Linked DNA regions of Homo sapiens: regions 2, 3 and 4 are each linked to region 1. Evidence: promoter capture Hi-C in 16 types of primary human blood cells and fetal thymus (Javierre and others, 2016). All regions are on one chromosome and are shown on one strand. Each heading gives the region's core, a stretch centred on a gene start or on the middle of the fragment in contact. The rest is flanking DNA. Distances are from core to core; before and after follow the strand shown. Region 1 holds the start of SPATA46 (spermatogenesis associated 46). Region 2 overlaps ATF6 (activating transcription factor 6). Region 3 overlaps ATF6 (activating transcription factor 6). Region 4 overlaps ATF6 (activating transcription factor 6).

What was found. The method cuts DNA at HindIII sites, captures the fragments that hold promoters and counts their contacts. A CHiCAGO score of 5 or more calls a contact.
Region 2: a fragment that was not itself captured here is called in contact with the fragment with the promoter of SPATA46 in region 1 in 2 of 17 cell types (M0 macrophages and M1 macrophages); the score reaches 10.1 in M0 macrophages.
Region 3: a fragment that was not itself captured here is called in contact with the fragment with the promoter of SPATA46 in region 1 in 2 of 17 cell types (M0 macrophages and erythroblasts); the score reaches 5.4 in M0 macrophages.
Region 4: a contact is called between a fragment that was not itself captured here and the fragment with the promoter of SPATA46 in region 1, in 4 of 17 cell types (M2 macrophages, M0 macrophages, M1 macrophages and 1 more). The highest score is 8.7, in M2 macrophages.

The regions. Positions count from the first base shown.
Region 1 is chr1:162,374,469-162,380,351 of GRCh38, forward strand. SPATA46 (spermatogenesis associated 46) reads right to left here and starts at 2,386. Exons shown (of 3, transcript NM_182581.4): 1 at 2,220-2,386; 2 at 822-935; 3 at 1-148. The coding sequence starts at 2,322. It also overlaps a transcript of C1orf226 not described here. The HindIII fragment of the contact is 3,530 bases long and covers 2,170-5,699 here.
Region 2 is chr1:161,782,744-161,788,626 of GRCh38, forward strand. It overlaps ATF6 (activating transcription factor 6), which reads left to right. Exons shown (of 16, transcript NM_007348.4): 4 at 1,247-1,353. Among named protein-coding and RNA genes, the nearest start is that of ATF6, 19 kb to the left of the region's middle. The HindIII fragment of the contact is 396 bases long and covers 2,187-2,582 here.
Region 3 is chr1:161,798,967-161,804,849 of GRCh38, forward strand. It overlaps ATF6 (activating transcription factor 6), which reads left to right. Exons shown (of 16, transcript NM_007348.4): 7 at 3,086-3,306. Among named protein-coding and RNA genes, the nearest start is that of ATF6, 36 kb to the left of the region's middle. The HindIII fragment of the contact is 3,864 bases long and covers 885-4,748 here.
Region 4 is chr1:161,840,626-161,846,508 of GRCh38, forward strand. It overlaps ATF6 (activating transcription factor 6), which reads left to right. Exons shown (of 16, transcript NM_007348.4): 10 at 5,824-5,883. Among named protein-coding and RNA genes, the nearest start is that of ATF6, 77 kb to the left of the region's middle. The HindIII fragment of the contact is 5,206 bases long and covers 2,031-5,883 here.

The DNA.
Region 1 (5,883 bases), core at 1,136-3,635:
TCCTGCTGCACCTCTGGGAAGTCATAGGCCTCCAGCTGGCTCTCTTTGTCTGCACACACGAAGTAGCTGTAGGGGGAGAACCAGGGCCGGTAGATAGTGCAGTTCCGCCTCAGCTTCTCTCCGTGCTGGGTATCCCCCAAGCTGCAGTCTGCAAAGGAAAGGACCAGGTCTGAGTCTCTGGCAGGGAGCAGTGGAGCCAAGGATGCTGGAGCAGAAAGGTAAGAAGGCAAACATCAGGCATGACCTCGGTTACCTCCACCCCACCACGATTGCAGTTCTGAGAGCAGACGCAAGACAGTGGTAAGAGCAGCCGAGGGCATTCCTTCTCACTGCATTCTTTTTCTAGGGGTACAAAGGGCCGTTGGATCTTGGGGCAGGAGAGGCTGCTTTTAGTTGGTAAGCCTTGGTATTTGTCGAGGCCTTCCCCTCCTGGAGACACCATGTCCACTGACTCCTCTAAGGATAGACACAGACAGGTGACCCAGCGGATAGCCAAACCGGCGGCCTCCCACAGTCCCTCTTTTCGCCACCCATGGCTGTGACCCTTTTTTCAGCCTCACTGCTCATCTTGATCCCTCCACGGCCCACTCAGCCAGAAACTGCTCTTGCACACCAGTTTCAGAGACAGGAGAGGGGAGGCAAGGCGAGAGCCCCAGGCCTGTGGGTGTCTACCAAAGGAAGAAGGGCCAGATAGGAGGCTGCAGGTGACAAGACCGCGCATGGGGGTCCAGCTTCCAGACACCTCTGCTTCCTTAGGGAAGCAGCCCCTTTTCATCCTTAGCCTCTCACACATTCCCGCCCAGAGTCAGAGAAGTCCTCACCTGGTGAGAGCGCTGTGTTCTGTATCCCTTGCCTGACAATGATGCTTTGGTACTGGGGTGGCAGGGCCTGAGCTGGGCTGGATGCCTCAGTGGGTACTGCTGTCTTTGCAATGTCTGGGTTATAGAAGAAACACTGGTGAGCTGAGCAAGGTTGGGATTCCACTTTCTGGGACTCCCCCAGGCATACCTAGGGGCTCAACCTCTGTACTTCAAGGCATCTCAACGCTGAAACAGAACAGTGACCTCTCAAACTCAGCCAGGCAGAGCTATTCTGGATGACATCCTGGGGAATTCTGAATGGGGCCATTTCATTCAGGCCTCAGAAAGATCCTCTGGAAAGTGGGATTTATGATGTAGCCCAGATGACACCTCTCCGCCTGGCCTGCCCCTCACCTAACCCTCCTGCATCTCATCACGCGGATGGCTTCACTCCGCATTGCCAGTCTCCTGAGCATCCTGGGACCCAGAGTCACAGGCTGCAGAGCAATGTTCCATGCCCGCTTTGAGGATTGTCCAGTTGAAACATCTCATACCCACAGTCAGGGTTCCCGTGGGCCATCACTGCACGGCACACCCTGGAGTGCTAACACTTGGACAAAAAGCTGACCTGCCTCAAATCCCAGAATAGCAGCTGTGTTCAGTTTGGGGGACAAATTTATAAATGTCATATATGTAGACAAATGGATGCTTAGGAGGCCTACTCCACTGAGCAGTACTTCTCCATTTTACTGTGCATAGAGATCCCCTAGGGATCTTGTTAATAACACAGATGCTGATTCAGTGGATCTGGGGTGGGAACCTGAGATTCTGCATTTCTAACAAGCTCCCAGACGATGCAGACGTTGCAAGTCTAAGGACCGTATTTTGAACAGGGAGTCCTCAGGGTGTCCAACTTTATTCCATGATGTGCTCATCAGTTTACGCTGCTGCTTAGGCTTCTCTGATTTGGCTAACTCCAAATCCTCTCCAAACTTGTCAAAACAGAGCTAAAACTAGTTTCTACTCTATGTAGACATACTGCCACCTTGAGATTTCATGCACAATCTAGGGGGAAAAACTTGATGATAAATGGAGACTGAGGCAGGAGAATCACTTGAACCCAGGAGGCAGAGGTTGCAGTGAGCCGAGATCACATCATTGCACTCCAGCCTGAGCGACAGGAGTGAAACTCTGTCTCAAAAAAAAAAAAAAAGTTTTCCCCTTTCTTCCCTTACCAAAAATCAATACACAGCAGTAACTACTTACCACAAATGCAGCATTTTGAAAAATTATTTTCTCCCCATGCGTAATTTGACTTTCTCACTAAATCATGGTCCTGTAACATGATCTGGTAGGGTACTCAATTAAAAGCTTCAAAAAAAACCACATCTTTGTGGCCCTAGTGGCACCAAAGTTTACCTGGCAGGCTGGTGGCACGAGAGAACATAATGTCGGGAAAAGCACTCAGGGCGGAGGAAGAGATTGGAGGTCCAGAGATGCTGAGGAGTGAGAAGTTCTCCATATTCTGACCACTGCGGGGGTACAGAGATCACACGCCTGCTCTGGAGAGGCTGGCTGGTTTGTCCAGAGGATAAACATTCTGAGCACAGTTGATGTCACAAGGCACATGATTCCACTACCAACTAGGTTACCCTTTGGAAGATGAATGGAGTCTACTGAAAGCAAGATTAAAATGTGTAAAGATTGTATTTGACTTGCCATTGCCCAGTGGCAGGCCCTGATTGACAATACCCAGAGAGAAGAATGTAGTAGAGATACTGTAGTGATGCTGTCTATTTGTCCCCTTTTATCTTTGTTATCATCAGTTTTCTGTGTTGACACTGTCTACCCCCAGCCCTCCAGCCCTGGAAACCTCTGTCCTGTCTGAATAATCTCCTTCCTTTTCTTCTCCTTTATCAGCCTAATCTCTGTCAGCAAATATTTTTATTGTTTTGTTTTAGTTTGTTTTTTGAGGTGTATATATTTTTCACATTTTCTTTGGAAATTCAAATTTGTAAAAGTTGCAGAAATTAGGCTGGGTGCAGTGGCTCAGGCCTATAATCCCAGCACTTTGGGAGGCCAAGGCGGGTGGATCATTTGAGGTCAGGAGTTCAAGACCAGCTAGACAAACATGGTGAAACCCCATCTCTATTCAAAATATAAAATTTAGCCATGCGTGGTGGTGGGTGCCTGTAATCCCAGCTACTTGGGAGGCTGAAGCAGGAGAGTCGCTTGAACCTGGGAGACAGAGGCTGCAGTGAGCTGAGATAGCGCCACTGCACTGCAGCCTGGGTGACAGAGCGAGACTCCATCTTAAAAGCTGCAAAAAATAAAATCAATACAAAGAACACCCTTATGCCCTGTATCCAGATTTTCCTATTAACATTTTACCCCATTTGCTGTATCCGTCCCCTTCCTCCTGCCCCCTGCCCCATGTGTATGTGTATATACTTAATTTTTTCTGTGAACTATTTGAAGGTAAGTTATAAACACTATGTCCTTTTATACCTAAGTACTTCAATGTGTATTTCCTAAGAATAGGGGCCAAATATTGTTTTCAGTGGTTGGTGCTCTTTTTAGCAAGTGACTAAAGCACAAATGGGTGGCTTACTCAATACTATTTTGCTCATTGCTTAAGTCAGTTTGATGGGGAGACTCTGGGACTCCAGAGAGGCAAGGTTGCCTCTTCGTTTCGCTTGTCCTATAACAACCTTGTGCACTAACGAGGTGTGGAATAAGGTGAAAGATGATTGTGACACTTGGAAGATAAGCTGAAGACACCCCTTTCTAGATTATCACAACATGTCAACTAGATACAGAGCAGGGCTGCAGATCTAGATGGCAGGTATGTTTATGCTGCATGGGGAGCTATGGCCGCTCTGGAAATAGTGATGGGCTTGTTTTGCAGTGCTGTCGAGCATGTGTGAGTGAGGTGTGAGTTAGCTTCTGCACGTGAGAGCCCAGAGTTGTCTTCCTGTGTGTATTTATTCACGGTACTGAAACATTCGAAGGACAATGGGAGAACATGATTCCCCTCGTGTTCCTCCCAGATAGCCTGGTTTGGAACATTAGCATGTATTGGAAAGTAAGTTGAAGCCACATACTTTGGCAGTTTGGGGGGTATCAGCAATTTCATTTGGTCCATTATGGTGTAGAGAAAGCTCATGAGTCTGGGCATCAGCTTATGTGACTTCTAACCCTGCTCCGCCATGAGCTACCTGTGTGATATTGGGCAAATCTCTCTGCTACTTGGTTTACCCATGTTATTAGTTTAGACTCTAAACTGGAATGGATGAACATCTTCCTGGCTAAAACCCAGTGACTGACATGTGGACAGTAGCATACTTGTGAGTGATGCACACAGGACCCCGAGGACTTGGAATTGCATTCTGTCTTGACCCATCACATTTCTCCGACTGCCAACTTCAGACTCTCCCACTGCAACCTCAGACTTAAAGTAAAGGGAGCTTAAAATACTGGGGGGAAATATGGGAGGCAGAATCTCTCAGTGCCTGTGTAGAGTTTTTAAAATGCGACCCGGTTTTGGTTTAGTCACTGAAAAGTTTGTGGGAGCCTGGCGGTTCCAGGGTGCACACCACTCCTCGTAGCAGGTCCCCTGTCTTGTGTGCTGTGTCCCCCCGAGGTATGCTGGTGCTGGTGGCCCAGGCAGGAGGTGACACTCTCAAAGTGACTGGTCACTACGTAAAATGTGTCTTTCTTTTGTTTGTTTCCCACCTGCTTTCCGAGCCCCTTTCTCGGACAGGTAAGATATCCTGTTTTTTTGTGGATGACTTACATCCCCAGATGCCCTCCTCTGCTTGGGTGTGTGCATGTTGGGGGGTACTGTTGGGAGGGCCACCTGGCTGGGGTCCAGTCATCTCTCTGTCCTCCATTGCCATTATTTTCTGAACCATCAAGCCTCTAGTCCTGAAGCAAGAGAGATAATGTGTGGGGGTCATTAGCGTCATCATCAAGAAAGGGACCCATTGCACATCCTCAGACATAGGGATAAAGGGACCCCCCAGCCAGAGCCCCACTTTCACTTTGAATAGAAGGGCAGTTATCCGGGTCTGACCTCAAGAGCCCCTGAAGACCACTCCCATAGAGGGAGTTTTGAGTGGTTTTTATAAATGGAAAAAGACTTGTGAGCAGTTTCCCTACAATGTCAGTCCATCATGCAATTTTTAAGAATTCATATAAAAGTCAAATTCAATTAAACAAACTTATTAAATGCCTACTATCGTGCAAGACCCTAAGCTGGGCATTGTAGAAGATAAAGAAACACTTCAGGAGCTATGGCCCTCAAGGACCTTACCATTTTAAGACAAGGTGTATTTACTGGAAAGACTTAGACAAGGGTAAAGGGAGTGCATGGTAGGCTATCTTTACATTACTTAAGAATTCAGTGCGTTATAGACTATGTTATGAAGGGTAGAGAGCAAAAAATACAGGAAATCCAAAATGGTGCATAATCCAGAGTTCTGTTTATTACAAAGAGTGTTTTAAAAATAATAATAGCTTATAATTTACTAATCACCTTGACAGGTGTTTTTGGTGCTTGCCTTTTTAAAAACGAGTATGTCTGCTCTGAAAAGTCACTTTAAACCAATAAGGAGACCACCAGGGAAATGTCTGATTTGGGAAGTGGTGGCAATTTGCCTTCCCCGGGCATTTCGTACAGTTTCATTGTTGTCTATGTACTTTCTGGTTTGGGGGGAAATAGTTAAATGGTTTGGTTTCCAAATCTTCTTTGCTAGTTTGCGGATGACGTGATTAAAGAAAATAAGAAGGATGTGGGACCTGACAGGCAAATTGTGCCAAAGTGGATGATGTGGCAAGATACACACTTAGGAGAATCATCAGGAGTTGATGACCCTGCTTGCTGTGGAGCGGGCTGGAAGCTTCTGCTGGTGTGGTGGGTCTATCTGGAGCCCAGCCAGCTTGGGCCCTGTGTCCCAGGGATGCTGTCATGCTGTTCCCTGGCAGGTCCTCACCCTGCAGTGGTGCAGGCCACAGGGCTCATCCGCAGAGAGTAGTCTCCACTTCACTTCCCACAGGTTTTCCTCCCTGCCACCCAAAGGCC
Region 2 (5,883 bases), core at 1,135-3,634, 590 kb before region 1:
GTTTGCCTTCATAGAATGTGGGATACACAAAGTCAGTGTTCTGGTTTTATCGTTTGACAAACTAAATCTTAGTTGCTTAAAGCAACAACCATTTTATTAGATTGCTAGAATCTATGGGTCACGAATTTTGACTGGGTGCTTACGAATTTTGACCGGGTGCTCCAAGGATGGCTTGTCTCTGCTCCATGATGTCCAGACCACAACTGGGGAGATTTGAAGATTGTAGTAGCTTGACATTTGGGGGCTAGAATCATCTTGAGGTTTCTTCACTCATATGTGTGGCACCTGGGGTGGAATGACTTGAAGACTAGGACTACTAAATGGAGTGCCTGCATAGGGCCTCTTTGTGTGGCGTGGTGTTCTCAGTCATGGTGGTCTCAGGGTAGTCAGACTTCAAAGGCTCCAAGTATGAGTGTTCCAGCACACAAAGCAGAGGCTGCATTTCCAGCTTCAGAATTCACATAGCATTACTTCTATCTTCTCTTGATTGAAGGAGTCAAGCCCACCTAAATTCTTGGGGAGGGGAAATCGACTCTACTTCTTGGTGGGAAAGTGGCAAGATCACATTGTAGAAGATCATGAGGGAAGATCATGAAGGATGGTAGATATCGTATGGCTAATTTTGGAAAACACAGTCTGCCATCCCCACCCTATTCTATCTTTGACACCAAGGGATACTGCCTGGGCCATAGTTGCTCAGTACATTTTTATAGGATAAATTAATAGTTTAAAAGATATGAACATTTTTTATGAGTTTGAATTGTATTGTCAAAAATGCTTTCCAAAATATTTCCTGTTTCTTATTTTTTTAAATTTTTTGGGAAGCTATAATATTTTGCATATGGTAAAATATTCAAAAGGTACAAAAATCTGTATAGTAGAAAAATGTCTCCTGCTTTTATTCCTCAGCCAACAAGTTCTATTTTCCAGAGACAACCACTGTTACCAGTTTCTTCTGTTTACCCTTCCAGAGAATTAGTGCAGATGCAAGTGTACACATATATATACACACACACACAGACATACATATATACCCCCTCCCCACATATATATATAATTTGTAACACAAGTGGAAACATACTAGATATATTGTTTTCTGCATCTTTCATTTTCACTCGTTATATTTTGGTGACCTTAGCTTCCATATCTGATTGAATTTTAAAAGTAGATTTTACCTTCTTTCTTGTTCATTTTATTATAAGTTTTTATTGTCCAGTGGGTAAAACCTTTCCTCCATGTTTTCCAGTTAAAGATATTAAGGCAGAACCTCAGCCACTTTCTCCAGCCTCCTCAAGTTATTCAGTCTCGTCTCCTCGGTCAGTGGACTCTTATTCTTCAACTCAGCATGTTCCTGTGAGTAGCCAGTCTTTTACAATGATTTTGGTTATAATATGCTATCTGGAAAATATGTATATGGAGGAGGCAGTTAACATTTATTGAATACTACTATGAGTTATATTGTCTCATTTATTGAGGGAACTGAGACTCAAGAAAGAGCCTTGTGGGAGCTAGAAAGTTGTTAGTGCCTTTGGTTTTGCTCTCTTTTCCCCTCTGTTCATGCCTCCATAATTTCATTGTTTCATTTGTTTCATTGCATTTTAACAGTATCCAGTATTTGTTTATTGGCTTACTGTCCTTTCTCCCACCCTTTCTTTCTCCTCCCTATTAGGATATACATTCTTTATATATGGACATAGAAGAATGTAAGATGGTCAGTTTTTATATCTCTTTAGTCACAGCATCTAGAATGATTGCCTTAGTTTGGGAATGCCTAGTGCTACCTTTTGAAGGGGCTCACGTTTTTATAGAAGTCTGGTAGCTCTTTTAAGAACACTTCTGCTCTGTGTCCAGACAAAAGCCCTGAGGCCAGGAAAAGGAAGTACCTGATTTAGGTACTTTTTAGAATGGGGAAAGGGAAAGTATAAGAATAAAAAAATCAAATAATATTTTAGTATATTATATGTGCTATAAATTGTGGTATCTTTGTTCCTGCAGGCTCTACATTTAGTTACTAAATCCTGGTGGTTATATGCACATATTAATTCAAGGATTTATCTTTTCTGCCCCTGCCAGGCCATCACTATCTCACCTGGATTAAGTCAATAGGATTTTAACTGGTCAGCCTTACAACTCCTCAAACCTTTCTTAGCAGTGGAATCTTCAAAGAGAAATCTTTCAGTGTCACAAGCTTTACTGTATCAGTCATTTGCTTAAAACTTTTTAGTAACTTCCCAGTCCTTACAAGGATGAAATTTAAATTCCCAGAGTACTAGGCTTTCCATGATCTGGCCCCCATTTACTTTTCCAGTCTCTTTTCTTGCTATCCCCTCCTACTTCCACATTCCCCTTAATTTGAGCCCTGTGAGAGTTCCTCTCTGAGAGCTCCTATGCACTCTACTCATTCAACCGCTGTGCCAGGCACTGTTCCAGATGCTGGCAGTGAACAACAGCAGTGAGATTGCTGCTGTTACAGTTCTAGGTTTTTGCACATCCTCTTTCTTCTGCCTAGAATAGCCCCATTTTTTTCTTGTCTTGGAAAACTCATCCTTCAAGTCCCAGTTCAAAAACTACTTCCTTTATGAAGCTTTTCTCTGATTGCTGCTATTGGTAGCTCTCTGAGGTCCCACAATTTCTCCAAATGATTTAATTTTTTAAAAAATTAATAATTACAAAAGGTAGCATACTGTATACCCTGTCCTGTACCTTGTTTTTTTAGCTTAGCAGGATAACTCTTAATTTCAGAGTATATAATTTTCCCATTATGCTACATAATGTTTCATTGCATGGCCTTATCATGCTTAATTTAGTGATTTCCTTATTGATGAGTATTTGTGTTGTTTTTAGTCTTTTCCAGACCCAATTAACCTGTACATAAGTCTTTTCCAGACTCAAATAACCTATAGTAAATAACCTGGTACATAAGTCACTTTATATTTTTACCAGGATATTTTTGGGATATATTTCAAGAGGTGGGATTGTTGACACCAAGGTAAATACACTTGAATTTTGCTAGATACTGCCAAATTTCTCTCTATAGGGGTTGTAAAATTTTACATCCTCATCAGCAGTATGTAAGAGGGCCTGTTTTCCCATCATCACTCCACAATAGGTTTTGTTTTATATCTCTTTTATTATAAGTATGGTTAAATAATATCTATTCATATGTTTTATATGTTTAAGGCCTATTTGCATTTCTTTTTAAAAAATGAACTGTCATTTCAAATTTTTGTTCTTTTTTTTTTTTTGGAGATGAACTCTCTCTCTTGTCTACCAGGCTGGGGTGCAATGGCATGATCTCGGCTCACTGCAACCTCCGCCTCCTGGCTTCAAGCAATTCTCCTGCCTCCTCAGCCTCCCGAGTACCTGGGATTACAGGGATTACAGGCACCTGCCACCACACCCGGCTAATTTTTGTATTTTTAGTAGAGACAGGGTTTCACCATGTTGGCCAGGCTGGTCTCGAACTTCTGACCTCAGGTTATCCACCTGCCTCGGCCCCCCAAAGTGCTTGGGATTACAGGTGTGAGACACTGCGCCCGGCCGTTCATTTTTTAATTGAATTGTATTGGTCTTTTTCTCTTTAATATTTTAGGTGCTTTATTATATATTAGGATTATTAGTCCTTAGTTTGTGAAATAAGCTGCAAATATTTTTTCCCCAATTTTTCTTTTGTCTCTTTGCTTTATTTCTGGTGTTTATTTTTCCCCAGGTGTACTGTTTTCTATAGCCAAATTATTGATCTTTTCTTTAATTGCTTTTTTGTTCACTCAAAGGAAGGTTTTCACCACTGAGAGGTTATAAAATAATTCACTCATATTTTTACTCTTTTTTTTTGCTTATGTTAATTTTTTGTTTGGAACAATCTCAAATTCACAGAAGTGTTGTGAGTACCTTGCAAATAACTTGTTTTTTCCTTATGCATTTCAGAGTAAGTTACCAGTCCGATGCCCCTATCACTCCAATACTTTAGTGTCTACTTCCTACAAGCACAGATATTTCTTAGCCATAATACAAGCACAAAATCGGGAAATAAACATTAATATGTTACTATAATCTAACCTTCAGCTCTCGTTTAAATTGTGCCAGACATCCCAGAGGTGTCCTTTAGACTATCAAAAGGACCCAGTTCAGAATCAAGCATTGCATGTGGTTATCTTGTCTTTTTAATCTTGTTCAGTATGAAACAGTTCTTCATTAATCCTTGACTTTCTTCACCTTGTCACTTTTGGGGATTAGGAGTTAGTTATTTTGAAGAGCATTTCTTAGTCGGGTTTGTCTGATGTTTCTTTAGGATCATATTCAGGTTTTATATCTGTGGCAGGAATGTCACAGAAGTGCTGTCTGTGTCCAACTTTTGATGACCCAATTTTGATTTTTTCTAATACTGATTATTTTCACTTTGATCCCTTCATAGATGTTATCTGCCAACCTATTCCATTGTGAAGTTGCTTTTTCTCTCTATGCCATACATATTTTGTGAGAAAGATACTTTAAGACTATGTAAAAATATCCTGTTCATCATCACACTTTATATTTGTTCACTTATTTGTTAATATCTGTATGGATTCATCGTTTCTTATTTTATTCAACAGATTATAATCCGTTACTATAATTATTTATTCTGATTCTTACATTGTTCTGGATTTGGCCAGTGGGGGTCCCTTCACACCAGCTCTTATGTTCTTTTAACATGTCTCCTTTGGGCTCTGATGTCCTTACACTAGGCTGTCTTCCCATGCGGATGCCCTCCTCACTCTGCTGTGACTCCTCATGCCAGGCCGCCTGCCATATCAGTGCCCTCTCTACCCTTCTTGGACCCTGACATTCCACCAGGCTACTTCTCTGCGTGGATGGTGGTCTTGCTTTACCCCATCTAGTGGCTTAGGATAAAATTATTCAGGAAGGAATATTTTCTAAGTGACTATGAATAAGTATTTATCATGAGATATTATTTTTAGTGTTTAGATCTCGGATCCATTTGAAATTACCCTTGTGTATTATATGAGATACAAATCCAATTTTATGTTTTTCCAAATGACTATCAAAATGATTATTCTAGTACCATTTATCAAAAAGTTCATCTGATTTCAATTATATGCATGTATTTTAAATTTATGTAAATGGCATTATAGTAGATATCTTTATATTATTTACTTTTAAAAATCAGCACAGTGTTTTTAAGATAAATTCCTATTGCTCTGTGTACATCAAATCTGTTGCATCTAACTCTGTACAACATTCAAGTATGCATTCACTACATTTTTACCTACACCATAATGAATATTTTAAAAAATGTTCCCTTGCGGACCCATGTGAGAAATCCTTTAGAATATATGCCTAGAATTGCTGGGTAGTAGAATGTGCAGGTATTTAATTTGACAAGTGCTTCCATATTTCTCTCCAGGATCATCATAGTACTCTGTGGGCTGGCAGCAGTGCCTGAGGATCCCTGTGACTTCTCTCCTGATACTTGGCATTGTCTGCCTTTTTAATTTTTACTCCATGGCACAATGTGTTTTTTTGTTGTTTGCTTTTATTTTGTTTTACTTTGTATTTCTTTGGTTATTGTTTTCAACATTTATTTACATTCTTATGAGCTTTTTGGACTTTTTTTCTTTTATACATTGTTTATTCCTGTCCTTTGCCAGTTTTTCTACTCAGTTGTTGTCTTCTTGTTTATCAGCAGGAATTCCTCATATACTTGAAATAGTAAAACTCTTGTTGGATTTAGACATTCAAATTGCCTATATCTTTTCCCTTTCTATTATCTATTAACTTTGTAGTCTTTATTAAGTATAAATAGTTAATTTTCAATTACTCAGGCTTATCTTTTTTTTTCTTTTCCTTTATGGCTTATTTAAGAAGTCCTTCTATGCTTTTAGA
Region 3 (5,883 bases), core at 1,567-4,066, 580 kb before region 1:
AGAGAAAAGTGAATGCATATACATTGCTGGTGGGAATGTAAATTGGTTCAGCCACTGAACGTAGTTTGTAGATTTCTCAAATAACTTAAAGTAGAACTACCATTTGACCCAGCAGTCCCATTACTGGGTATATACCCAAGGGAATATAAAGACACACGCACACATATGTTCATCACAGAACTATTCACAATAGCAAAGACATGGAATCAACCTAGATGCCCATCAGTGGTGAACTGGATAAAGAAAATGTGGTACATATACACCATTCAATACTACACAGCCATAAAAAAGAATGAAATCATGTTCTTTGCAGCAACATGGATGGAGCTGAAGGCCATTATCCTAAGATAATTAATGCAGGAACAGAAAACCAAATACTTCATGTTCTGTCTTATAAGTGGGAGTTATACATTGAGTACACATAGACATAAAAAGGGGACAATAGACAACAGGGGCTACTTTTGAGGGTGGAGGATGCAAGGAGGGTGAGAATCTAAAAATTACCTGTTGGGTACTGTGCTCATTACCTGAGTGATGAAATAATCTGTATGCCAAACACCTGTGACATGCAATTTATCCATGTAACAAACCTGCCTGTCTACCCCCTGAACCTAAAATAAAAGTTGGGGGAAAGAAAAACTGAATCCAAGGGAAAACGAGAAGGTAAAAATGTTTAATGATCATTTATGCCGAAGTATTAATACATTGTATCTACTCCAAATCCATGAAATTATTTTTAGATCTTCTTATCTGGGATAAAATGCTGTTTATTGAAATTCTGCTACTTTCAGTGTGTTTTTTGAGGCCATCTGAAACAAGGGCTTTGCTTTTATAAGTTATCTTTTTTAGCCAAGACAGATGTTCTTGACAAACAGGTGTTCTGAAGCTTTATTTTGATTTTTAGTTTTCCCCGATCCTTTGAAATATTGAGCTGAGTTTTACATGGGTCAACCTGTCTGAAAGCATAATGCTTTTTTTTTCTTAAACAAATTATAAATTTACATGATATTTTAGTTGCCAGTTATTTTAGTACCTTCATTTTGTTAGATAGGCTCAAGCAGCTGTGGATGTTAGGCAAGGCTTTCAGCACCTTATAAAAATCTGCCAGATCTGAAAGGAAACACTTAGCAGGCAAGTAAAATTTTTAATAGATTAGTGTTATGAGTTGTATAAGTCTTTAGGTTAATGGTACAGGTTTAGTACCCCTTAAATGAAATGCTTGGAACCAGAAGTGTTTCAGATTTTGGGTACTTTTGGATTTTAGAATATTTGCATATACATAATGAGATATCTTGGGGACAGAACCCAAGTCTAACATGAAATTCATTTATGTTTCATGTATATCTCATACACATAGCCTGAAGGTAATTTTATATAATATTTTAAATAATTCTCTGCATGAAACCAAGTTTGCATACAGTGAACCATCAGAAAGCACAGTTGTCACTATCTCCTGTGGACAATCTGTAGTTGTTTGGCACCACCATCATTCCTGGCTCTGAATTCATATGCTACTGACAAGCAATCATTTTCTTACACTTATTCACAAATTCACACCTAAGAACTTAACAAAAATTATGACATACCATTAATACAGTGAAAAAATAATGTGTGCAGAGTAACAAGGCAGGACAGTAGAATCACCAGAATACCAGTGTCAGCTACTACACAACAGCAACAACAAAAAATGGCAGCTTTCAGTCTCTGCCTTTGATGCTGTTTTCATTAAAAGCCTACTGTACCCTCTATTTTATGTCTTCAGGTGAGAAGAAACATCAGAAGCAGTTGAGAGACTGGAAGTGGGTCCTCTAGGGATGAGGAGGCATTCTGCTGGATGACTTCTAAAAATGTTTTCTATGGAGTCATCTGCCTCATTAACAAGTTTTTGTTTTAGAAGTCTCTTTTTGATTTTGTAAACTGACATGATTTCTTTTTCTGTTATGACTGTATGCTGCTTTAGTCCTTCACTAGGCCCATCACACATTTTTACCATGTCATCTATAGGCACTTTTTCTGCAGCGTTAACAGCATCATCTTCATTGTCATTATTATAGATTGAGTATCCCTTATCCAAAATACTTAGGACCAGAAGTGTGGAGTTTTCCACTTGTGAAGTTGTGTCAGCACTCAAAAAGTTTTGGATTTTGGAGCATTTTGGATTTTGGGTTTTTGGATTAAGGATGTTCAACCTCTAATAATTCTCGTCAGATTAGCATAAATTTAAAATAATGATACCTCTGAATACTCAGAAAAGAATTGAAGGCCATTTTTGGGGGAAGAGGGAAAGGGCTGGTATCATCTACAGACTATTTTGAATCACAGATTTATGTTTACCGTGATTGTTAGCTAAGATTTAATCTCAAATGGTTTTAAGTTTTTTGGTATTTGTAGTCTTTTTTTTTTTTTTTTTTTTTTTGTCCTTTTTAGGGATCTGCCTGCCTCAGCCTCCTGAGTAGCTAAGACTCGAGGCACATACCACCATACCTGGCTAATTTTTAAATTTTTTTTTGTAGAGACAGGCTATCACTATGTTGCCTTGGCTGGTCTCAAACTGCTGGCCTCCCAAAGCACTGGGATTACAGGTGTAAGCCACAGTGCATGGCCTGTAGCTCCTTCTTCTTCTAATATTGAGTTACTAAGTTTATGTTCAGATATTTTTGGTATTGTATGCATTTGTAAATCCTATTAATTTAGAATACATGACTCTCCATATTCAGTGTAAAAGATTTGTTATTTATAATAAGACAAATCCTTTTAGCACTAATAAATTTCAGAGGTTAATTCTTAGAAATCTAGGGATTACAGCAAATTTGATAGCTGTTTAGTTGAGAAAGATAAATAAGAAAGTATATTAAAGTATATTGTTAATGATAACTCAAAGAGATGAATTTAGTTGGTCACATTAAAAACATAACAAAGTCACCATAAGCGTGTGCTGCTATTGATCCAATGTTTTAATTGATGGTGTCCAATCCCTTGGTGTTGATCTTACCCATTACGTCTGCAGAAAAGACCTAATTATAAGCTGCTTCCCCTGCCACAGTAGTTGTGTACCCTTTGATTCCTTTTCTTTTTTCTAACGCAGGCCAGACGGTTTTGCTGTCTCAGCCTACTGTGGTACAACTTCAAGCACCTGGAGTTCTGCCCTCTGCTCAGCCAGTCCTTGCTGTTGCTGGGGGAGTCACACAGCTCCCTAATCACGTGGTGAATGTGGTACCAGCCCCTTCAGCGAATAGCCCAGTGAATGGAAAACTTTCCGTGACTAAACCTGTCCTACAAAGTACCATGAGAAATGTCGGTTCAGATGTAAGTTTTGAAACTTAGTGCTTCTCTTAATGCCTGATTTAAAAACCAACAAAAAAACACCTTTTGCTTTTGTTGCCTTGTTTTTGTTTTTTTTAGAGTTTCTTATATTGCATCAAATAAAAGAGTGTGCTGAATTGCACATCTAGTCTTTGGAGGAAAATTAGGGTAAGGCTTACTACGTTAGAATCTAAGTGAAAAGGTTTTTGAAAGTGAAGTGGTTTGATGAAAAGCAAAGTATGCATACCTCCCTCTTCTTTACTCCTTCTTTAGAACCAACCCTCTTATTATTCTCTTCAAGCCCTTACACCCTCAACCCAGTCATCCACTAATATTTTACAGATTCAACGTTTCCTGATTGAAATGTTTTAGCGATCTTCAGATAAGAGTCTATAGATTACTTTTTAGGTAGGTTTTATATTTAGCTTTCTTCCTTGCCGTTTTGAAGTATTTTCACCACTTCATAATGATGACTAGCTACTCTTAGGAATTCTGTCTCTTAGTGATTATTTGGTACTTTCCCATTTTTGCAAACCTTTAAATTTTCTAGCATGTTGTAGGGATTTCTTATAATTTATAAATCACATAGTTTCCTAAGACCTGTCACTCTCTAAAGCCAGTTACTGCACTTGCCAACTAACTCTTGCTTTCTTTCAAAATGATTGGAAATAACTTATGTATTAAATTGAACATCTTGGTCCTAAAATTTAATGAATGTTAAAGCTATATAGTCAAACAGTGGATTCTCTAAAGTTACGATTGGGAAAGCAAAGTGTGTATGTTTTCTTTAAAATAAAAATGGATACTACTAGTTGTTAATATTACTACTTCATCCTTTCTTTAGGTAGAATGCATTTGAAAAGTAATTTTAAAATCCTGTGGGTTATGCAAGGTTGTTTATCAGACTACTGTCTGATCTGTCTGCCAGAATTTATTAACCAGCATGTCAGTGACCCATTTAATTATAAAATTGCTCCACAGTTGCATAAACAGTAATCTCAGCCAGCAATATTGTAAAAATTCATAACAAAGGAATATTGTCTGGTGAAAGTAGAACATCCAGTTTCTAGAATAAGAGTCCCATCGTTTGTATAGGTATTGAAAACAATGCATGTCAAGACATGGAATAGGAAAATTAGTGTTGCTATGAGACTAGAGACCATGGACAGTACAGGATTAGGCTTGACTGTTATGTTGGTTTGTTTTGAGGACTAGAAGAGGTAAGCACAATGCTTATGGCATAATAGGCTCTAATACATAGCGTGTGTTTCAGTTGAAGATGAAACAATGTTGCTGGGATGGGAAGGTGGTGAGCACAGGATAGAGGCAACTGGATTGGCAAAATGTTGATAATGATGGAAGCTGGGTGTTTATTTTTCTATCCTTTTGGTGCATGGAAAAATTTCTACAATATGTTAAAAAAATGACAATAACAAAAATCCAAAAGCTTTCTGTGATATTTTCAATTAAAAAGTTGTGTGACCAATAAGAAAAGAGTATGATTTTCATGGGAGACCAACCAGGTTAAGAATGATGAAAAAGGATTTTTAAAAATAATGCTTTGAAATTTCTTTTTTTTTGTTTTATTATACTTTAAGTTTTAGGATACATGTGCACAATGTGCAGGTTAGTTACATATGTATACATGTGACATGCTGGTGCGCTGCACCCACTAACTCGTCATCTAGCATTAGGTATGTCTCCCAGTGCTATCCCTCCCCCCTCCCCCCACCCCACAACAGTCCCCAGAGTGTGATGTTCCCCTTCCTGTGTCCATGTGTTCTCATTGTTCAATTCCCACCTATGAGTGAGAATATGCAGTGTTTGGTTTTTTGTTCTTGCGATAGTTTACTGAGAATGATGATTTCCTTTTAATACTCTTTTAAATTATGAACTTGAATGTTTCTTATATAATACCCCCAAATGAAACTTATAATAGAAAATATCCAAAGTTGCCTTTATGTAATATGTTAGGACATTTAAAATATTTTTATGAAATATTTTAGACATGAAAAAAAGATAAAGACTAATTAGAACTTTAAAAATACATAGGTCAACAGTATATCACTGTTGTTAAAAAATATTAACAATATTAATCTAAGTCATCCCAAACATGGAAAAGTCCAGAAAAGCATAGCTAGGATGGGGAGAGTATCTAGAAACCATGGGGTAGAGGAGTGGGTTAAAGGTTGGAATGATTCAGTAAACTGAAGAAGAGAGGATGGAAAGTAGACCTGGGAGCCATCTTCCAGGAAAGGAAGGTTGTTATGTGGAAAATAGAATTGTTCTGCTTGTTCCAGAAGAGTTATCTGGAACAGGTGCAGGAAAAATATAGAAAGGTTTCTTCTAAACATAAGGTTTTTTGATACAATCATTGTATTTAAAAACCAGAAGAGCAACCCCCCTGCCTTTTTTTTTTTCTACTTTTAGGCTTACTATCTGAATAATGAGCATCTTAATGTTGACAATCATCACTGTATGCCATTGACCCATTTTATAATCTCTAAACATATTCCAATTAATTATATGTTGGTCTATTAGTCAGACATCCTTTATTAGTTCTCTGGTGTGAAAGACTGT
Region 4 (5,883 bases), core at 3,384-5,883, 530 kb before region 1:
AATAATCTAAAACAGTTGTTGGCTTTTAGAATTTAATAAATGAAAAAGTAAGGTAACAATTCTTATAATACTTTTTCCAGACTTTCGGGGAAATTGAAATCATTTGTGTTTTATTAATCCATGCTTTTCAGGACCAATGGCCCATAATGTGAGCAAGGTTTATTGGTGTAATGATTATTTTGTGGCCTAAAACTACTGTGACTCTTTGGACTAGCATGTTTCTGATCATAGAGACAGCTAGAGACTTCTTCTTTTTTCTTAATATTTGTAGCTTGTTTTAAACGTACTGAGTAGAACCTGATTTAAGCAATTATACAAAGTTTGGTTAGATTGCTTTATTAATATTATGAACTAGAAACAGTCACCAAATGCGCATTCATTATACTAATCCTTACTATGATTGAGTCATTTCTTTGAGTTCTTGGAAATCTAATTTTTCTAAAATTAACAAAAGGGGACATTTGAATGATGCAAAAGCACTCATGGCAAGAATCTAAAAGTTCATATAAATAATAATTTTCTCATACTCTTTTATACATTTGACCATTACAAGATCTGTCAAATTCCTTTCAATATTTGTGATGTCACAGTCGTACTAAAACAATCTTGAATTCTGGCAGCGAAATGAAGTTCTTACCTGTCTTTCAGATGTTAATAAAAATAAGGGAAATACAAACCTGTAGTTATTCAGATGGTTAAAATTAGTTTCTGTGGGTCATTTCATAGAGTTCAAGTATTTAAATGTTTTTTTAGCTGAATTGGACAATCAACTTGTCTGTAATTTAGCTTAAGAGAAATTCCATTTTAAGACAAAAAAACTACAGGGAATGTAGGCCAAAAAATAATAACAACCAAAAACAAACAAGTGAAAAACGTTAAAAGATTCTTAGCAGAATTTATTAATATATTACCTCTTCAAAATATATTCTAGCCAATGGATAGATAATAAAATTGAGACCCACAGACTATTTGGATCCTAAATTTTGTTTCATCATGACTCCCTTGTTGAAAATACTTTATTGACTCTGTGTAATGTAAATAAGATAATTTTTGTGAAGCTCATTGAATGCGTCTGAGCTCCTTAACTCAAAAAAGGCTAAAAGTTACTGAAATAGCTATGGTTAAGGGTATATTGTCATTACAATGTGATAATCATTACCAAAGTGGGCACTTGGAAAAATAGTGACCACTTATGAGCCAAACCAATCAACATTAAAACTGATTTCCAGTAAGTACAGCTGCCAAGTGATTATAGAGCAGCCTGGATACAGATGGGATAGACTACAAGGATAGTTAAGCTCAAAGCATTTGCCTGTTAACAGCCATGAATTGTGAGGTGAAATGCCAGTTTACATAGTGTTAGTAAAATCATTAAAAGAACAATGATTAGTAGAAGAATTCTTTACAAACCTTAAAGTATCAATAGTTCTGAATTAATTCAATTTATAAATTATCCATAAGTCATACAAATAGCCACTTTGTACTTTTTCATGTCCCTCCAAACTCCCCCAGTCCCTATTTCCAAACTGTCCACTTCTGTTGAATCTATTGTAAAAATGTGTACCTTTTAGGGAACTGAGATAGGAAAGATGTGAAAAACAGGATTAGTTTAGAATAATGGTTCTCAAACATTGGTAAAGTCACCTAGACTAGTACAACCACTGCGGAAAACAGTGTGGAGATTCCTTAAAGAACTAAAAGTAGAACTACCATTTGATCCAGCAATTCCACTACTGGGTTTCTACCCAGAGGAAAAGAGGTCGTTAAACAAAAAAGATATTTGCTCATGCATATTTATAGCAGCAAAATTTGCAATTGCAAAAATGTGGAACCAACCCAAATGCCCATCAATCAACAAGTGGATAAAGAAACTGTGGTATATATATATGATGGAATACTACTCAGTCATAAAAAGGAATGAATTAATAGCATTCGCAGCAACCTGGATGGGATTGGAGACTATTCTAAGTGAAGTAACTCAGGAATGGAAAACCAAACAGCGTTATATTCTCACTCATAAGTGGGAGCTAAGCTTGGGATATAGGTGCACCAAAATATCACAGATCACCACTAAACAACGTACTCATCTCACCAAATGCCACCTGTTCCCCAAAAACCTATGGAAATAAAAAATTTTAAAAAAAGATAATTATTAATCCAGTTTTTGGTGAATCAGTGAGTGACAGTGGTTATAGTAGTGGTGGTTTAAATCAAGGAATAAATGTTTTCAAAGTGAAAGGAGCACATCCTACCACACAGTTCAAAAACAATCACAAATATGGCAGGCTTGCTGAGAGCTTTCATACATCATTTATTGTCATGCACTTGTATGATTATTGTATACTGTACACATTTTTATTTTACAATGATTTGTATTTTCCAATGCGTTTATTGCAGTTCAGTGTGGTAGATGGCTGGAGCCTATCCTGGTAGCTCGGCGCACAAGTCAAGAATTAACCCTGGACAGGGTGCCATCCCTTTGAAGGGTGCACTCACGCATGTTCCGCACACTCATTCAGACTGGAGCCATTTAGACGTGCCAGTTAACTTAACATGCACATCTTTGAGATGTGGGAGGAAACTGGAGTACCCACAGGAAACTCATGCAGACTTGGGGAGAGTATGCAAACTCCACACAGACAGTGACCTTGGCTGGGAATTGACTTTTTTTTTGTCATCAGTGTTATCACAAAATGACATTGCATGAACCAGCATTGTTTGAAGACTTGCTGTATTCTGATTTTTTTTATCTTTCATCTTTGAGTCATTAGCACCAAATATAGTTCTTGGAACATAATAGGTATTTACTACATGAATAAATTAATGGATGAATCATTCATTCTGGGAAATGTTGTCAACATAGTGCAGTGATGGAATTCCAATCCTGAATCCAAATCCTGACTTTCTTAGTTATTTAGAGCATAAACTTGGGCAAACTGTTTAAACTCTTTGAGCTTCAACTTCCTTTGAGCCTTCATTTCCTTAGTACATAGTAGGTACTCAAAAGTGGTAGCTACTGTTAAAATATACTGTATTTGCATCTTAGAAGAGCATTTAACATTCTTGTGATATCTTTATGGTCAAGATGGGAAATTTTGACCTAGGTGGTATTTCAGTTAATTCATAAGTAGATAAACCTACGTTTTTACAGATTTAGAAGGAGCTTTTTATTTTAATAACAACTCAGTACAGGATATTGATGGCATGCTGATACTTTCTTGGAAGAATTTCTTTTGCTAATGAGGAGCCTAAAAGTTCTTGATTGATTAGTAGGTAAGTGTTTTTAAAGGAATTGATATAAATTATTCAGCTGGATCCTAAAACTCAGTTACACAAATTCAGAGTTGAGGTGGGATAGGAAGAGAAGCAAAAGTAATGGTTCAAAATCGATTTGTGTGAAAGGACTTAGGGTTTTAATTACACTGGGCTCAATATAAATAGAGTGTAATATAACTGCCAGGAAAGCCTATGCGATATTAGACTGCATCAGTAGAACAACAGTGTCTAGAACAAATGGAGGAATTATCCTTTTCCATTCTGTAGTGGTCATACTACCTAAGAAGTACTGTGGCCAATTCTGGACATTACCTCTGAGAAGCATGTTTATAGGACAGTGATCAAATATGCTAAAGGAACTTCAGACTATGCTGTAAAGAGGAGCATGTGAAAGAATCAAGAAACTATAATCTTGAAAAAGAAAGCCTGGGGTAAGGGGGATGTTAGATGTCTTTGGACATTAGAAGAAGGCTTACTTAGACTTGTTCTGGATAGCCACAGAATCCAGAACTAGTATCAAAAGGTGGAAGTTTTTTTGTTTTTTGTTTTTTAAAAAGGAAGCACATTTCTAGTTAAAACAAGGGGAAACTCTTAATAATTAGGGTGGTAGAGATACTGGAGGGATCAGGGAGTGAGTACTTCCACCAAACAGGAACATTAGTATATGGATATTTCACTAATAACAATAGCGGGGTCAGTAGGGGTTGAATTAATTGAGATTCTCTAAACTTAGGGGAAAGTTCTTAACTTTGATTTTATTCATAGCTTACTTTCATAATTAGAATTTTTGGCACCATGCTTGAAAGAAAAAGTAAACACTTTTTTTTTAAAGTTAGTTTCCTAAAGAAGAAATAAAATTTCTTAGTTGTCATCACACTCTTCATTTGACTTCCCTCCCAAATTGCTATTGTTTTCTGCTTCTCTCATGTTTTCTTAAATACTCATCAGGGTGACTTTTCTTAAGTTTAGACAGACATTCCACTAGGTCTCTTACCTCATTTGTGGCAAGGTTTATATTGATGTGTGACTGCTCAGGTAAACCTTTAGTCTGAATGATACAGCTATGACAAAATATAGCCTCAGTTGTAGCAAAATTAAATGTTACACAATGGCTTTAATTGGTGGTACACCTTTGAAGAGTTTGCAGTATGCCCAAGTGCTAAAGCATACCATGTGAGAATCACTGGGTAGCAATGATTTCTGGGGGTGAAGAATTGAGGAGAATGGAAAATATATTAAGGGATCAGAAAAATATTCTAGAGAGGTGTGTCTGCTCCCCGTTTTCCCCCAACACTGATTTCCCCAAATTTGGAGACAAACTACTATTATCTCAAAGAACCGCTTTTCCTTTAGAACCACAGGCTCCTTAACTACCCTTTTTCATTAGCCTTACTTTCCTCTTGCATTTTATCCCTCCAAATAGAATCTTTTGTGCTTCTCTAGGGAGATTCCCTTTGTGTTGAATTTTATGAGTAGTGTAAATTGTGTGGGTTGCATCATAAAACAAAGTGCGAACACACACACAAAGTCTTATTGATGAGCCAAGTTCCTAAGCACTATTAATGAGTTAAAAGTGTTAATTAAGGCTGGGCGCAGTGGCTTACATCTGTAATCCCAGCACTTTGGGAGGCCAAGGTGGGAGGATAGCTTTAGCTCAGGAGTTTGAGACTAGTCTGGGCAACATAGTGAGACCTCATTTCTACTAAAATTAAAAAAAATAAAAATTAGCCAGATGTGGTGGCACATGCCTATAGTCTCAGCTACTCAGAGGGGCTGAGGTGGGAGGATTGCTTGAGTCCAGGAGGTCAAGGCTTCAGTGAGCTGTGATTGTGCCACTGCACTCCAGCCTGGGTGACAGAGTGAGACCCTGTCTCAAAAAAAAAAAAAAAAAAAAGTTAAGTAGGCAGTATTTGCTTATATGTATATATTTTGTTGTTTTCTCCAAATGCTTATGCCTCTGAAGAGGATATACATTGATGAGTGAAGATATTAGGGAGGGTAGGGAGAAAGAATAGAAGTTTTTACATATAAATACAAATAGAAGTATTTAAAAAATTTTTTTTTCTTAGCTTTATCTGATAGCCTGCCTTCTGGAATTGTGAAAGGCTAACAATGAATTTGACTTTTATTCCTACTTCATTTGAAGTATTCTCTCATTGAAAACACCAGTTTGCACCATCCAGGAGGCCTTCTTATTTCAGTTATTATTGGAGTTTAAAATTTGTTTTTAGGTGTGTCGTATTTATTTCTACTTCATATATACATGTAATTATCAAGTTTTTAAAACATATAGAACACTACTATTGTTTAAACAGTTTATAAATAAGGTACTTTTATACTTAGAAAAATTGTTTTTGATATGTGCAGGTTACCATGCTAAGGATTTGAACACCTTCAGTACCCTATTTGTACTTGCGTCTATGCCTAGCATTTTTGTTACGTGCATGGATCTGCAAAGGAATTGTGGTTTGTTTCACAGCTGCATGTAGCAGGCATATGTGTGACATATTTTTATTTCAGCTATTATTTCCTGTTTTTTATTTTCAGCATGTTGGAACAGGATTCCAGGAGAATGAACCCTAGTGTGAGCCCTGCAAATCAAAGGAG